Linked DNA regions of Homo sapiens: region 1 is linked to region 2. The links are contacts of gene promoters, found by promoter capture Hi-C in human tissues and cell types (Jung and others, 2019). All regions are on one chromosome and are shown on one strand. The core of a region is centred on a gene start or on the middle of the fragment in contact, and the rest is flanking DNA. Distances in the headings are between cores, read along the strand shown. Region 1 overlaps TOX (thymocyte selection associated high mobility group box). Region 2 holds the start of TOX (thymocyte selection associated high mobility group box).

What was found. The method cuts DNA at HindIII sites, captures the fragments that hold promoters and counts their contacts. A contact is called where the count stands out against the background at its distance.
Region 1: a fragment that was not itself captured here is called in contact with the fragment with the promoter of TOX in region 2 in 2 of the 25 tissues and cell types used here (lymphoblastoid cells and small bowel).

Annotation. Positions count from the first base shown.
Region 1 is chr8:58,842,128-58,849,676 of GRCh38, reverse strand. All of the region lies in intron 4 of TOX (thymocyte selection associated high mobility group box), which reads left to right. Among named protein-coding and RNA genes, the nearest start is that of NSMAF, 190 kb to the right of the region's middle. RefSeq lists an enhancer at 6,996-7,549. The HindIII fragment of the contact is 4,434 bases long and covers 774-5,207 here.
Region 2 is chr8:59,114,923-59,122,078 of GRCh38, reverse strand. TOX (thymocyte selection associated high mobility group box) reads left to right here and starts at 2,932. Exons shown (of 9, transcript NM_014729.3): 1 at 2,932-3,193. The coding sequence starts at 3,092. It overlaps TOX-DT (TOX divergent transcript), which reads right to left and starts at 2,869. Exons shown (of 3, transcript NR_149031.1): 1 at 2,794-2,869; 2 at 2,008-2,122; 3 at 1-1,743. RefSeq lists silencers at 2,188-2,407, 6,246-6,295. The HindIII fragment of the contact is 9,409 bases long and covers 1-4,538 here.

The DNA of each region.
Region 1 (7,549 bases), core at 1,741-4,240, 270 kb after region 2:
CAGTAAATTGTATACCGGATTATTCCTAATTACAATAACATTTTTCACAGTCTTCCACTTATATGAGTAGAAGAGTAGGTAGAAATCTGAAATTCATAGAATTAACATTCATGGGTTCTGCCATTTGCTATTAACCTGTTAGGTCCATATTTTGTAATTTTGCTAAAGCATGAATTTACATGTCTCCATGCTGATATGAAACTTTGCCAGTGGGTATCCTATTCAATCATTCAATATCCACATCTTGAAATAATTTATAACGCTTCATTTTAGTGGACTGTGTAAGCATTGCATAGTAAAACTCATATTCTATAGTGATAGATTATTGAATTATCAATGCAGGAAAGTTTAGGGATTGATTTCTAAGACTGCACCCATTAAAATGACTTTTTTATCTGCACAAACATTCATACGAATTCATGTTAAGTTTAAGTGTATTTTCCATCTCAAGAAAAGTAACCCTTCATTCCAATTCTATGCACTGTTTTTCACCTTGTCTCCAATTCAAATCCTCCTACTCATTTATTTGAGTTATATTATTATATTTATTTAAGCTAGAAAAATCCTCTGATGAAAATGTTAAAGCATTCTTCATTACAGTTAAGGATTAAACTGGATTTTTTCCTTTATATGTGAGTAGGATTTATGTGGAATGTTGTAGTGCAACAGCTCCAGTTAAATGTGAAATAGCATTAAGTCAAAAAGATCATTTAAATCATTTCTAACAAGTGAACTAAACAAGAATATTTAGTTCCACACCAGAAAAAGCTTTTAAAGCTTTCCTCTTAACACTTTGTGCTGTCTTTAAGCAATTATATATTGATTCCAGCTCATCTAATTGAACAATTAAATGAAATAAGTCTGTTTTGACAGACAGGAATATTGTAAATACATCAGTAAAATAAATTATCACCTTATAAACACTACCCGCGATTTTGATTGCTAGGAAACTGTGTTGACAGCCTTAAGTCATAATGAGACACAGTAAAGCATCAAAGAAATACAAACTTAGGCAGCTTGTGGTTCTAAGCCTGTAATCCCGTATTTGTAATATAAGAGATACTTTAAGACACATAAAGTATCTGACATTACAATCACATTTTTGGCACAGTTTTCTCTTTAAGGAAATTGTGGGTAAGAATCACATTATATATTTTTCTATCCTTTTACTTTCTGCTTTTCTGTTGAAAATATCCATGTTTTATCTGAGTGTCTCTTATAAATTTCGTGTAGTTAAATGAGCTTTTACTTTAAAATGAAATCTTTACTGCATTTACCTTACTATAAATATGAAAATAGGCTTGTTTTTCTAAGTATGTTACTTTCTGTTTATGCCACAAATATTTTATGTTTCTTTTTTTTCCTCATCTTCTTTAAGATTGCTCTTATTTTTCTCATTACATAATTTCCCATTTTGAGATTAGAGATTTTATATTCTTTCTCTTCTTTCAGTAGCTGTCCCTGGAATACAGCTATATAGAGGTCTAAAATTTACCAATATCTTTACCTTTTTTCTTAGATTACTTTAACTACATACACCTTCCGTTCAATTTATATTGGGAGCTGTTATTGTTGTTCATTCTAATTATAGTTTAATTGAATTCTGTAACTGAATAAACCTCATGAAACACTATTTTAATTATTTTATGAAGTTATTTTTCCTTTGGATTTATTCACATATATATTTCTTTCACCTGACATCTTTTTCTTTATGCCTTTAAAATGTTCTTTCATGAAGGTCTGCAGGGAACATGCTTACCTTAAAAAACACATTTGCTAGGTATAGAATTCTAGATTGGCAGTTATTTTCTTTCAGCGTTTTGAAGATATTATATTATTTCACTGAATCCTTGTTTTCACTATTGCTTTTGAGAATTTACTGCCTGACTGTCTTTCCTTTGAAAGTAACCTGACTTTACTCTCTGACTGCTTTTGAGATCTTCTCTTGTCTTTGGTGTCCTGCAGCTTCATGGTGATATGTGTGGGTTTCTTTGCATGCATTCCGATTGTAATCATTTCTGTCTATCAGCATTTTGGGGAAATTTTCATTCCTTATTTTTTTCAGATACTGCCTCTATCCCATTCTTGCTCCCTTCTCATGCTGTTATTCTCAGGGGATGAATATTAGACTTTCTCCTTTCCATGACTCTTTTTCATATTTTCTACTTCCTTGCCCCTATGTATTACATTCTGATTTAACTTATTTTCCAGCTCGTAATTCTCTTTTCAGCTATACCTAATCTGAAATGGTCTATTGCAATTTTAATCTCAAATATTTTATATTTTTGGTTTCATTTGGTTCCTTCTCAAATGAGTTTGGACTTCTTTCTTTAGTTGCTTGCTCTTTACCCATGTATTTAATCTCTTTTATTCTTGTAAGCATGTTCAACATATTTGTTTTATACCCTCTTTTGCTAATTTCAATACATGAAGTATTTTGAAGTCAGAATATGTTGGTTTTAATAGCTTGTTTCATTTTGCTTTTTGTACTTTTGAAATGAGAATTAATATTTATGAAAACTTTGTAAGAATTCTTTTAGAGCTTGTTTAAAGGTGGATTTCTCTGGGGATGATTTATATTTGTTTCTGCCACATATTTTGAACCATTAGAATCAAGAACCACACTTGGCCTGAATTTTTCAGACCACCCACATAGAGTATGTTCAGGCTACAAATCTTGCAAATGCTGGCTTTTGTTTGTGAATGAACACAAGAGATTTTGTTCCACTCTGCATTTGTAACAAGGTTCCAGAGCAGCCATTCTTGCATGTTCTGGGAGGTCACATACAAGGGAATGTTACTTCACCCTTGCACTGACAGTCTAATCTTTTACGTCTTGATTTAACAGGACCACTCCCATTACACATCTTGCTTTTGGTAAGGCATGGGGTTTGTCTTCTGTCTATTGCACTCTTAACTCAAATTCACACGAGGTTCAACAATATCTTCAGTATGAAAGCTGCCTTTAATACACGCGTCGTCTCTGAGTTCACTTCGTTTTTGCCTTTAAGAGTTTGTTACTAATTTGCTAGTTCATCAATGCATGTGCTCTGCCACACTAGACAGAAGCAGGAGGTTTTTTTCTCAAAGCAAATAGGATAAATCACTAGAGCAGCAATTAAATAAGCCTTTAGAGTAGGAGTTTTTATTTACCACTGCTCTGAAGACAAGAAGACTCCTGGAATAAAGTAGAAATGAGAAACAGACAGGTTTCTACAAATATTAAGTGAAATCAAACAGTGTTAGAACCAAATGTCAGGTTACTTTATCTAACTAGCAATGGGACAGAATACTTAAAACTGGGACTTGGAAGTCTGGTATTGTCATCATTGAACTGTACTTATATTGTAACTGTTCACTTTATATAGTATAATGTGTATGATACTTTTAAAGTATGTATTAGATCACAGCAATTAAACTAATGTATGACCCTTATTTATTTTAAAAAAAAAGTATTCTATTCGTTAAGGCTGAGCCTAATAAACTAGTTCAGGAGAAAATGATAAAATTTAGTCAGCCATTTAGTACCTGGTTCCAAATCATCTTTCCTAAAATTTATTCAAGTAAATAATTATGCCAGGATATAGACATACCCTAGATGACTGAGCATACTTAATTAATTCATGGAATAAAAACAGAATGAGACTTAACATAGCCGCCTAGCATTTTATTCAGCGGGTCCCCACCTCAACAGCTTGCCTTCTTTGTAAGCCTGTAAAAGCCCTCAATCCAAAAGAATAAGAAGTAAACATATTTCCCTACATCAGTGAATTTAGAAAAGATCAAGTGGATCTCCTAAAATTGATAAATTTAACCAGTAGGTGTATAAAATAACAACCAACCTTTTTTCTCTTTAAAAAATCACTTTAAAGTGATTTTTCTGGACATTAGCCCAGACTTCCTATTTCACATAAGGCCGCTGAGTGCCTTTGCTAAACTCATTCAAAAATCATACTCAGCTATGTTTGGCAGAATCAAAGATCCTTAAAAATGAAATTGCTTTACAAACTATGACACTGATACAATGCCCCACACTTGTGAATCATTTCAAAAGTATAGCACTTCATATGCATTTTTCTATAATTGATGTTTTGAGTCATAGAGTGTATCGTTATTAAAGATAATAATAAACCCAATTGTAAAATGAAAGAAGTATTACAGCCTTGCTGATTTCACAGTAACTAGATGACTTACTTTCCATGCTTATTTGAATTTATTCTCATAAGGGGATTTTAGATGGCATAGTTTAGAAAAGAGAGAATGAATTTAAGTAGCAAAATTTTCACTCACTGAAACATCACAAAAAGTGCTGTTATATGCCCTGTTTCTATGGAGAGGAGTTTATAATATTTACTTTATATGATAAGAGTTATAAGTGGAGTTCTATGTTGTTTGTTCAGCCTATTATGCAGATGGTGCTTGATTAAAATCTATTTTAAACTACAGCGATTACTGCAAGATAGTGTGCATTAAACAGCTCTCCCAGCTCCATTAAAGGCTTTGGGACCGCGGCAGTTTATTTTAAATATGCTTATAGACGTTTCTAACTTCTCCAGGGACATTTCAATATCAGTGATTCTCTTTCTTTGATAGTCTTAACTCCTGTGCTCTGGCTTCTTAAGAAATACTGTTATCTAAGCAACACCATTAGCACATGCTTTTTTAAAGTGAAAGATTATTGTTTTCTTGTGATAAATAAGTTAAATACATCTCTATAATTAACCAATAAGACATGACAGGGGTGAATTACCAGAAGCCTTCAGGCACCTCTAGGGATTTGAGAAATAAATCTATGTCTTACGAGTAAGTTACATGAAGCACGTGTATCTGTGTAAAGCTTATGTGTAATATTTATTTATAAATAATATTTATTTAGGTATTTGTGCACTTATGTATTCGTTAGTGCTTTAACTGATGGTGAAATCAGTGCGTGGGTAATCAGGGCGACATTTAGGGCCTCAGCTCAGCCATGTTTTAGTTGCTATGATTTTCATACAATTTCTATGTTTGTTTCAAATTTTCTTTGCCTCATAAGTCTAAGCCTCTGCCCACTGCTGTAGAATACCAGAGCAGAAATGTATAATGATCCATTGCATGTAAAACACTGTACCGATGCTATGAAGGACGTGAAGATTAATGGGACCTGCTCCTTACTTTCAATGTGCTTGTCATCATAAGGAATTCACATTTGTGCATTATATGGTTTCTTCCATATTCTAAAGATTATGATGGAATAAAATTTAACTCTCCAGTCTTAGCACCCTGGTAACTTTACAAATACTGTATGTACTCTAGAGCAGTGTCCAGTACAAAATACTGTGCTGTCTAATCCAGTGACTTCTAGTCATGTGTGACTGCTTCCATTTAAATTTAACCAATTAAAATTAAATTTAGAAATTCAATTGCTCAGTTGTACTAGCCACATTACAAGTGGCCTATAGCCATATGTGGTTAGCAGCTACCCTTTTAGACACGGCAGAGAGCATATCTATCGTTCTAGAAAATTTTACGAGACAGTGCTGCTCTAGACTTTAAAAGTCAAGTACTCTCAGAAAGTTAGGATTTAAAATTATAAGCTTCCATCCATCTATGCAAGAAGTCCGGATCCAGACAATATCCAAAATTAAGGTCCAGGGACAGATTATAAATCCATTTAGCTAATTTTTCTACCACAGTCATATCTATCATCATTGTGTTTATCCCAAATAGTTTGTGGTCATAAGAGCCAAGTATCTTTCAAAGTGCATCCGTTACTGACATGAAAATGGATCCAAATTACAGCAGCATTTCTGTCTTCAAGGAGGCTTTGGACACAACAATGATCATGTGTTTTTCACACATGTGATGAAGCTACTTCCAAAAGTAGGCCTTACAAATTCCCAGTTCATTACACAGAATCTAAAATGGCAGCTCATTTCTGCATCCTTTCCACACAAGAAAAATGAAAAATAAAAAATAAGATCCCCACAGATCAGGGGACAATGCCCAGTGTTCATAAGACAAACAGCTTTATATTTCATAGAGCAAAGCCCAAGTACTTGGGTACATGAGAGATCAAACTACAACAAGGAGTTTCCATTCCATTCTATTGCATTTATAAAGAGCAAAGATATTATGAATATTCACTAGTCCTTTATGCAGGAACATTGAGCAATATAATAAACAATTCCCTCCAAAGTACATTTTATCTCATAAAAAATGGAGATCTTTCATTCATAGTTTTTCCCCCATATGTAAGTCTTCAGTGGAAGTCAGGGCATTGTCTTAGATTATAGTTCAGTTCTACAAGGGCAATTTTATAAATGTTCAGAATATTATGTTCCAAGAATCTAGCTTTGGTGATCTAGTTTAGTTATTGAAGGAGAGGCAGTGAATCTTGAGTAATGAATATTTTATGTGTATCCTTTAGATTGGTCTTCTCAGATGCCAGTTTTCTTGCATGGCAGAAAATTCAAACCAAAGTTAACATGAGTATTTAAAGGGAAGGCATAGTGTGATGTTGACTGAAAGCAGATCAATATGCTCTTGTTTTTAGGCACAACAAAGACAAAGATGATATAATCTTATAAGACTGGCTGGTAGTCTGCTTTAATGGGGGCAACACCATAGCTTTAGAGTCTAGTGCCTCTCAGGTACTCAATCAGATATACAATGGAAGCCCCAGAGTTACACTCTATAATGCATAAATGATGTCTCCTGAGCCTTGAAAATGTGGAGGCAGAAGTCATGAAATACTTGCTTCTATTAAACAAAACTTTGAGCAACATTGCATCCAGCTAGCCCTCCAGGACAAACCAGGAAAATAGGTAAAGCCTTCAGGCAACTAACAAAATGGATTGGCTGCGTGGAATTATTTAGGCTTTTCTATAGGGTTGCTATCCATTGCCTCAAAATGATAACTGGTGGTTTTCATATGATTGAGCCTCTTACTGGCAGTAACAAGTTCTCCTGTTTCTTCAGGACATCCCTAAAAGTAGGGCCTGTTGTCAAATGCAAGAGGATGACTGTCCTCCTACCTGTTATGGCAAGGAATCACACTTCCAGTAGATCTAAAGCCCGTACCATACTGTCCAAATACCAACTTAAAAAGGAGATAAGCATGATGATCAGTGTTTCAAACACAATTTTGGACAATAGAGGAGGGAAATTGTCTTAGTCCATTTTGTGCCGCTGTAACAGAATACCTGAAAGTGGGTAATTTATAAAGAACAGAGATATATTTCTTACAATTCTAGAGGCTCAAGAGGCCCTTGGCGAGAGCCTTCTTGCTGTGTCATCCCATGGTAGAAAGCAGAAGGACAAAGAGCACATGTATGACAGAGAAAGAGAGAGAGAGAAAAAGTTGTCTTTTTTCTGTCTTTTTTGTTCTATCCAGGACCCCAGCCTATTGAAGGATGGCTGGCCACACTGAGGGTCTGTCTTCCCCACGCAGTCTGCTGACTCACCCCAGTCTGCTGACTCACCCCAGTCTCCTGACTCACCCCAGTCTCCTCTGGAAACCACCCTCACAGACACACCCAGAAGTAATATTTCACCAGTTCTCTAGGAA
Region 2 (7,156 bases), core at 1,683-4,182:
TGCTAAGATGACTTCACTGACCAGACTAGTTTGGAAAATACTACTCTGAAAGACTACATCTAGAGCAGGAACCATTTTAAGTAATTTGTTTTGTATTTTAAACCTATAAATAATACAAAGCATTAGTGTTTTTCACCACTCTCTCTGTTGATTAATGTACAAATGAATGAGTGAATGGACAAATAACTATTTTATTTATCCATGATGTGGAGTTGAATGTCCAGGAAACTGAAAAGTATTACAATGATGCTCTATTTTATTTTCTAAATTAAGAAAGATTTGCTCAGAGGTTTAGATATTCAACTTTCCCCAACTTTTAGTACAAATACATCCATTTAGTTTTTGATGGGCCTTGGATACAGCATTATAAAGTGAGCATTTTTTCAGATTACACTGAGATGGCCTCTCTTTGTATAAGTGGCTAGAAGTAAGAACTTTTTCCCCCAGTAGCTCATATTCCCACCTATCACACCATGCCATGTACAGTATACCACTTTAACTCCATACACTCCGATGGAAGAAACCAGACTCTTGATTATGTAGAAGAATGCACAGGTCTCATGCATTTGGATTTTCCCTTAAAGCAGAGAAAACTGGTAGGTCTGTAGAGGAAAGCAGGAGATATCATTATCTCCCAGGAGTCAAGATGCAGATAATGGTATTGTTCCAGTCTTGAACCATTTCATTTCATCTTCCTGATGTTCACGAGGCCATCAAACAGACATCAATGATGAATTCCAAGAAAGTTTTATTTTTAAAAATCAAGTTTTGATATAATAAATGTTGGATTGAGGATAGAAATTTAAGCTGAGAAATGTTTAATTTGGACCTAAAAAAGTTTATTATTACTATTATTATTGTGGAAGGAAATACATACAGGCACATTTTAGTATCTACAACAGTATTTGGGAAGCTGTTATGAAACACAAAACTTCATTTAAATTTTATTATAAAGACCTTTATTAGGAGAAAGGACATATTTTCTATTTCTTACTTTTATTTTGTGCCTTGAAGGACTTGTGAATGTATAGAATAATTATTTTTTCTTACTGCTTCCTCTTTGCAACCCAACCTCCACCAAGTCAATCGTGAAGGTAGGAAGAAAGCTGTATTTCTGTTACTTTTAAAAATGATAACGAGAAGAAATTAAAACAATGGCTTAAGAGAAAGAGGATGTAAGGAGTACAAAGCAAAACTTAACAAAGAGTTAGTAAAGGAACTTGCATTGACAATTCACTCAGCCATGTTAATTTTATCATTAATACTGTCTTCATCATTTTTTTTTCCAGGTCTCTCTGCTCGTATTTGCTTGGTGCTCCGAAATGCACGGGAACAGACAGCTATGGGAAAGCTGCACAGAGCAGTTGGCAATCAACATGTCCTAGAAGGGTGTGTGGAGTAGCAAAACAAGTGGAACGGATGAAGAACTTCCAAGCTCCTTCGCAGAGTTTTGGGCCCTAGTGTGCAGGGCTGCTCCCTCATGAGATGGAGGACAATGTCGCCCACACCTACTTGGACCTCTCACCAAGGACACTGCCCTCAGAGATAAATCTGTTGGACGGCAGCCAAGAGACCCCAAATTGTCTCAACCTCCAGGACACGGCAAGTTGCAAGTTTCCGAGTTGGGGAGGCAAAGCGGGAAAACATGTTTGGCGATTTCCTCCTGCCACTCACCGACCGGAGAAATGGGGAGGCGGACTCCAGGTCTTTCGTGGACTGCCAAGAGCCCTATAGGGCGTCCAGCTATAAAAAGAGAAGAATCCCATGAAGGACAACAAGCAAACTCATATGTTATCCCTTTAGCCGGATTGTGTGCTGATGATTGTTTCCCTATTTACACTTCGAATCACCCCTGTGGTCTTTTGTGAGTCCCCAAGGCAGCCTCAGCCTTCGCAAACCGTCCAGTGGGGCACGAATCTCGGAGGGGTGCGGGCTGCAGGCGGCAGAGGGAAGCCAAAGAGGGGCGGCTTTTCCAGGCCGTCCACCCCCAGGCGAGCTGGTCCTCACCCTTCGATCGGCTCGAGTCCCTCGGACAGTTGCCCACTCACAGCGTGCAAAGGGGTCGCACTCCCTGTGGGTTCTCCGCCCTCAGAAGCGGCGCTGCGCAGGAAAGTCACCTCCACTACGGGCCGGGAGTAGGGAGGGGAGCACAGTGACAGGGTTGGGGAACAGCCGAGGAGGAGTGGGGGTCGCGGAGATAGGGGTGGGGACGGCCGCGGAGAGGGCGGTGGGAGTGGGGTGGGGCCGGGGAGGGCCGGGGGCGGGGCTGCGGGGCGGGGTGCGCCACAGCGCCCCCTAGCTGCGCGCTCCCCACGGTGCCCTGAGGCCGCTGGTGGCTCTGGCTCGGCAGCCCCTTTGTGTGCGACGCGCTGGTCCCGAGGAGCGCGGCACGGGCACAGCGGAGGCCTCCCAGGGTCCCACCGCTTCTGTCCCAGCCAGGCCGTGCTCTCCTCCTTCTCCTTCTCCGCTCCTCCTTTCTCCGGTCCCCGGCCTCTGGTTCCGAACAGCAGCCATTGGGCCTTGACGAGCCCGCGTCCGGCCGCGCTCCCTACCCCGCCCGGCCCGGGACGCTCGCCCCCCTCCCGCCCTGTCCCTTCTGGATCCCCGCCCCACCCCCCCACCCCCCACATCCCGGGCCTCCAAGGTGGAGAAAATAAACTACAAGCAGAACAACTCAGAATCTCCAATAAAACGCCCAGTACCTAGAGCCCGAGCGCGTGTGCCGGGCTGCGAGGGGCGCGGGAGGCGGGGATGGGGGGGCGGGCGGGGGGGACAATGAGCGCATGAAGTTACCTGCCCGGCGGCGGCGGCAGCGGCGGCGGCGGGACCAAGAGGCGGCGGTGGAGCAGGCTGCGCGCTCGGCGCCGACGGGTGCGCGCCGCGGCTTGGGGGAGAGTTGAGCGCTTTTCCCCCCTCTTTTTTTTTTTTTTCCTCTTCTTCTTAAACAAACCACAAACGGATGTGAGGGAAGGAAGGTGTTTCTTTTACTCCTGAGCCCAGACACCTCACTCTGTTCCGTCTAAGCTTGTTTTGCTGAACACTTTTTTTTAAAAAAGGAAAAAGAAAAGGAGTTGCTTGATGTGAGAGTGAAATGGACGTAAGATTTTATCCACCTCCAGCCCAGCCCGCCGCTGCGCCCGACGCTCCCTGTCTGGGACCTTCTCCCTGCCTGGACCCCTACTATTGCAACAAGGTGAACGCTCTGCTTTTGTTTCCACCGTGTTCTTGCTGCTTGATCCTGGGAGGGGAGCGGCGGTGGCCGGGCCGCGGCGGGGCCGGCTTGGCGGAGGCCGGTCCCGGGCGCGCTCGGCTCGCAGCCCGCTGCAGCCTGCGTGCGCTTGGGTAGTAAATATTGTGGAGTAGCTCCGGGGGCTTGCCAAACACCGCGATTGTGCGGAAAGTGACACGATTTGCTCGGATTCTTTCCTTCCTGCTGTTCGCGGCTAAGGATCCCTGCCTAGGTTTGCCGGGGGGCGTTTAAAAAAATAATAAGAGAAAACCGTGGAATACTTTGGGGGTGTGTCTGGGGTCCAGGAACGGAGGCAGAGTAAGAGAATTCAGTTTATTTCCCAGTTCCCCCTTCTCTCTCCCTCCCTCCCCGGGCAGTGGGGGCTCGTGGCACCACTTCCCTTCTCCGGATTAGTTGCCAGGGGAGCAGCCGGGAGTCGGGGTGCAGGGACCTGGGAGGCGCCCCTGCCCCCCACAGGGAAAACTGCCCCACAACTCTTTTGTTTTCTCAAACCGGTTCCGGCAGCCGAGCCCGGGTTCGGACACAGGTCCGCGGGCCAGAGCACAGCGGGGTAGCTGGGTCAAGGTTTGGGGAACAGTTCCTGTTTAAGGGGTGCGCGCGGAAATTGCAAGTTTGTTGGGAGCCGGGCGAGCACGTCGCGTTCAAGTCCAAAGCTCCCGCACTCGCGGAGCAGGGTCCGCGGCTGAGCTGTACCCACGGCCCGCTGACCTCGGGTGCCAGGGCCGCGGGGGCCCGGGGAGAGGCGGATCATGCCGGTGACCCGGAGGTGGGGCGCTGGCCTGGGCTGCTGCGGAGTTCGGCTGGGTCCACCTATAGGACAGTCAGGGGGTACGAGGGAGGGGGTTACTCTCCCGGCTTCTCGAACTCTCTCATCCCAGAGAGGGAGGACACGCAGGGACCGGTCCCCCAGAGTGGTCGCAGGGGCACGACTGCCCACGCCTAGGGCTAGTTGGACGTGTCTAAGCAGTCCCGTTGGATGAACGTTGGCAGAGAGAATTGAGTTCTCTAAAACGCTGGGCGGGCCTTTTAGACGCCCAACTCTCGCTTGGTGATAAATCTGCCTGATACTCACAGCCCCTGCAGGCACATCCATGGCGACCCTCGGTGCATTCCACGGGAAAAATCGTTGGGACTCCCAACATTTGCCTGGTGGCGAGTCATCACCAAACGGCTTTTTTACCTGATACAGAGATATTTAGTGCGCTGCCTTCTCAGCCCTGGACTCCGCACCACGCGACCGAGTCGCAGCTCCGAGTCTTGGACAGTGTTGACACACAGGCAGGCTCTCACACACACACTTCCCCGTGGAGAAGCTCCTCGATGCTGTGTCCAGTGTGAGACCCACTCAAAGGACTGTGCTGTGTGCCGATGGTGTTTAGGCAAGTTAGAAAAGAGGGACATCCAGTCTTGAGCAAGGCAGAAGGGCTTCCATTGTACAGGGAGCCCTTCAGCTACGGGCAAGTTGAAAGGTACGGGGAACTTTGGCAAGCGCATAGGAGTTTGTGTGATGAAGTTTCATTATTTGCTGGTGACATAGTTCTTTTAGTCTAAAATCTGTTTTGTCTGTACACTCAAGTATTGTGTTACGTTTTATTTTGCTTATGACACCAATACTATTGCTAATAAAAAATAATAAAGTTGCAGCCCTATCTTGGAGAGTAAAGACTTATTCCACTGTAGTTACCGGAACCAAAAGCTCAGAACTATTTTGGCAATGAGACTGGACAAATCTTATTAAGTTTATCAGTGATTTTAGGCCCCAAAAAGAAGTTAATGACTTGGATACACATTTCACTCCTCGTTCTTGTGATAAGTAGGGTCAGATTTAATTTAAAAGTTAAATGCTTTGGAAAATCAGGAATTACTTCAATATATTAAATCATTTTCCAATTAAGTGCTTTAAATAATTTTAGTGGGTTGTGCTGTGAATTGAATAAATTAATTTAGAAAGTATTCAGAATTTCTTTACTAGCTCATTGAAGTTCCTTTTAAGTCACCCCGTGTATAAGAAGCAAACTGTTCTTTTTAAATGCAAATTAGGCACCCTTTCTGTAGACTAGTTGCGAGTCTTCTATTTAACTTATCCAGAGAATAATAGATTTTTTAAAATCCAAAGTCATAAGACATGTTTCTAATAGTGGAAGAAGACTTCATGGAAATGTTTCTCCAGGGACATCTCTGGCCCATCTCTGTGTAGCAGTCCATCAGATATATTTGTCACTGGTCCCGATTATATTAAATGTACTGGATAGTTTTCTAGGCCCCACAAATCCCAGGCACTTGAGTTTTTTCACTCCACCATGATTAGCATTGGTACAAAATTTCTGTCCAGCTCCACAATTGTAGTTGTGCATAATGCAGTCAACTAGCATTTGTTTTTGCAATGACATGAGTGGATTTGCAGGGAAATGGAAGAAGGACAGAAGTTTGGAAAAGGTGAAGTAAGAAATCTGTGCCTACATTTATTAAAACAAGTTGGATCAGACATCCCCAAAAGAACAATACTGCAAAGTAAATCTTGCTTCCTTCGGAGGCGTAATGAATATGTAGCTTACTACAAATAGCAGTCAGTTTGTCAGGTGATTTGTTTTTAATAGGGTGATAAGATCATAAATTACTAATTATCTTTATTTTAAACCTGTCAACACTTTGCTTATTTAAAGTTGGTGTGCTAAATCCCAGCGGAACCAGTATCTATCTGTGCTTTAGAATCCTACAACTGTAGCTACAGTTTCCCGGTGACATTTTTTTCAATGTCAGAAGAGACTCTAATGGAGAAAATGAATATTCTCTTCCTGAAGCTTTCTAAACTAAAATGTGATTGTTTTACTCTGCTGACACTTTCCGGCACTGCTGCTCTATAGATTGCCAAAATGCTACTTACATTTTTCAGTTAATAAACTCTGGAGGAGGCATTTTTGGAAACGGTTTAATCTAGTATTGCTCTACTGTAAGACTAATACACGTTATGAACATATCACTATGCAAAGTAGCCTCCATTTTCACATAGCCCATTGTGGGAACAATGCGAATGATGTTGGTTAAGGCAAGTGTGTGAGGCATCTCTTACACAAACAGCCAGAACGGATGGCATGTTGCTGTATATAGGTCAGTGTTGGAAATAGCAGTGTAGCTCATAGACTGGACAGACACATGGAGGCTGGAGTTAACAGTATTCACCTCTTGCAGCCTAATGCATGGTTATATTTCAGACATTGAAAGATGAGTACCATAGTGGAGTTTCATCTAATTAGACTATTTTAAGTAACATTGTATCCCTTAATTGAGCTGAATGCTACCAAAATAAATTGGATTAAATGAGCTTACAATTGGAGTTCTGTAGTGATATAGTCTTGTTTTCTATTCTAGTTAAAGATGTCAGATCATCAGTTTAAATATATACCTACAGAGTAATAACAGTTCTTTTCAGTTTCTTAGTGCAGCGTCATTTCCAAAGATTGTTTTCACTGGTTTTATGCTAAGATAGGACAAAGAAGTGGTACTTTTTCATTTTTACAACGATGTGATGTGTTCAGTTATTGCTCAGTATCTGCCCACATAAGGAGTAGTAATACAATTATGTTATGACATGGCTAATGACAGGGATGGTGACCTCGGCCTGCAGTGGGAGGAGAAATAATGGGCTTCACTGTTCTCAGTGGTTGCCTTTATGGAATCATGTCCTGAATCTTTCTTTGGTTGATTTAGAAACAGGGAAGTCCAAAACACAAACCCATGCTTCATGCTGGTGATATACAGAGTGAAGAATAGTGGGCATTTGGAATATTCAGCTTTTATCATTGAAATGAGGAAGGACAGTGTATATGTTCTTTTTCGTAAAAACGCACAAGGAAGGACCCATTTGTGATGAACTCTGCTTGAAAATGTCAGGACAAACATTAGACA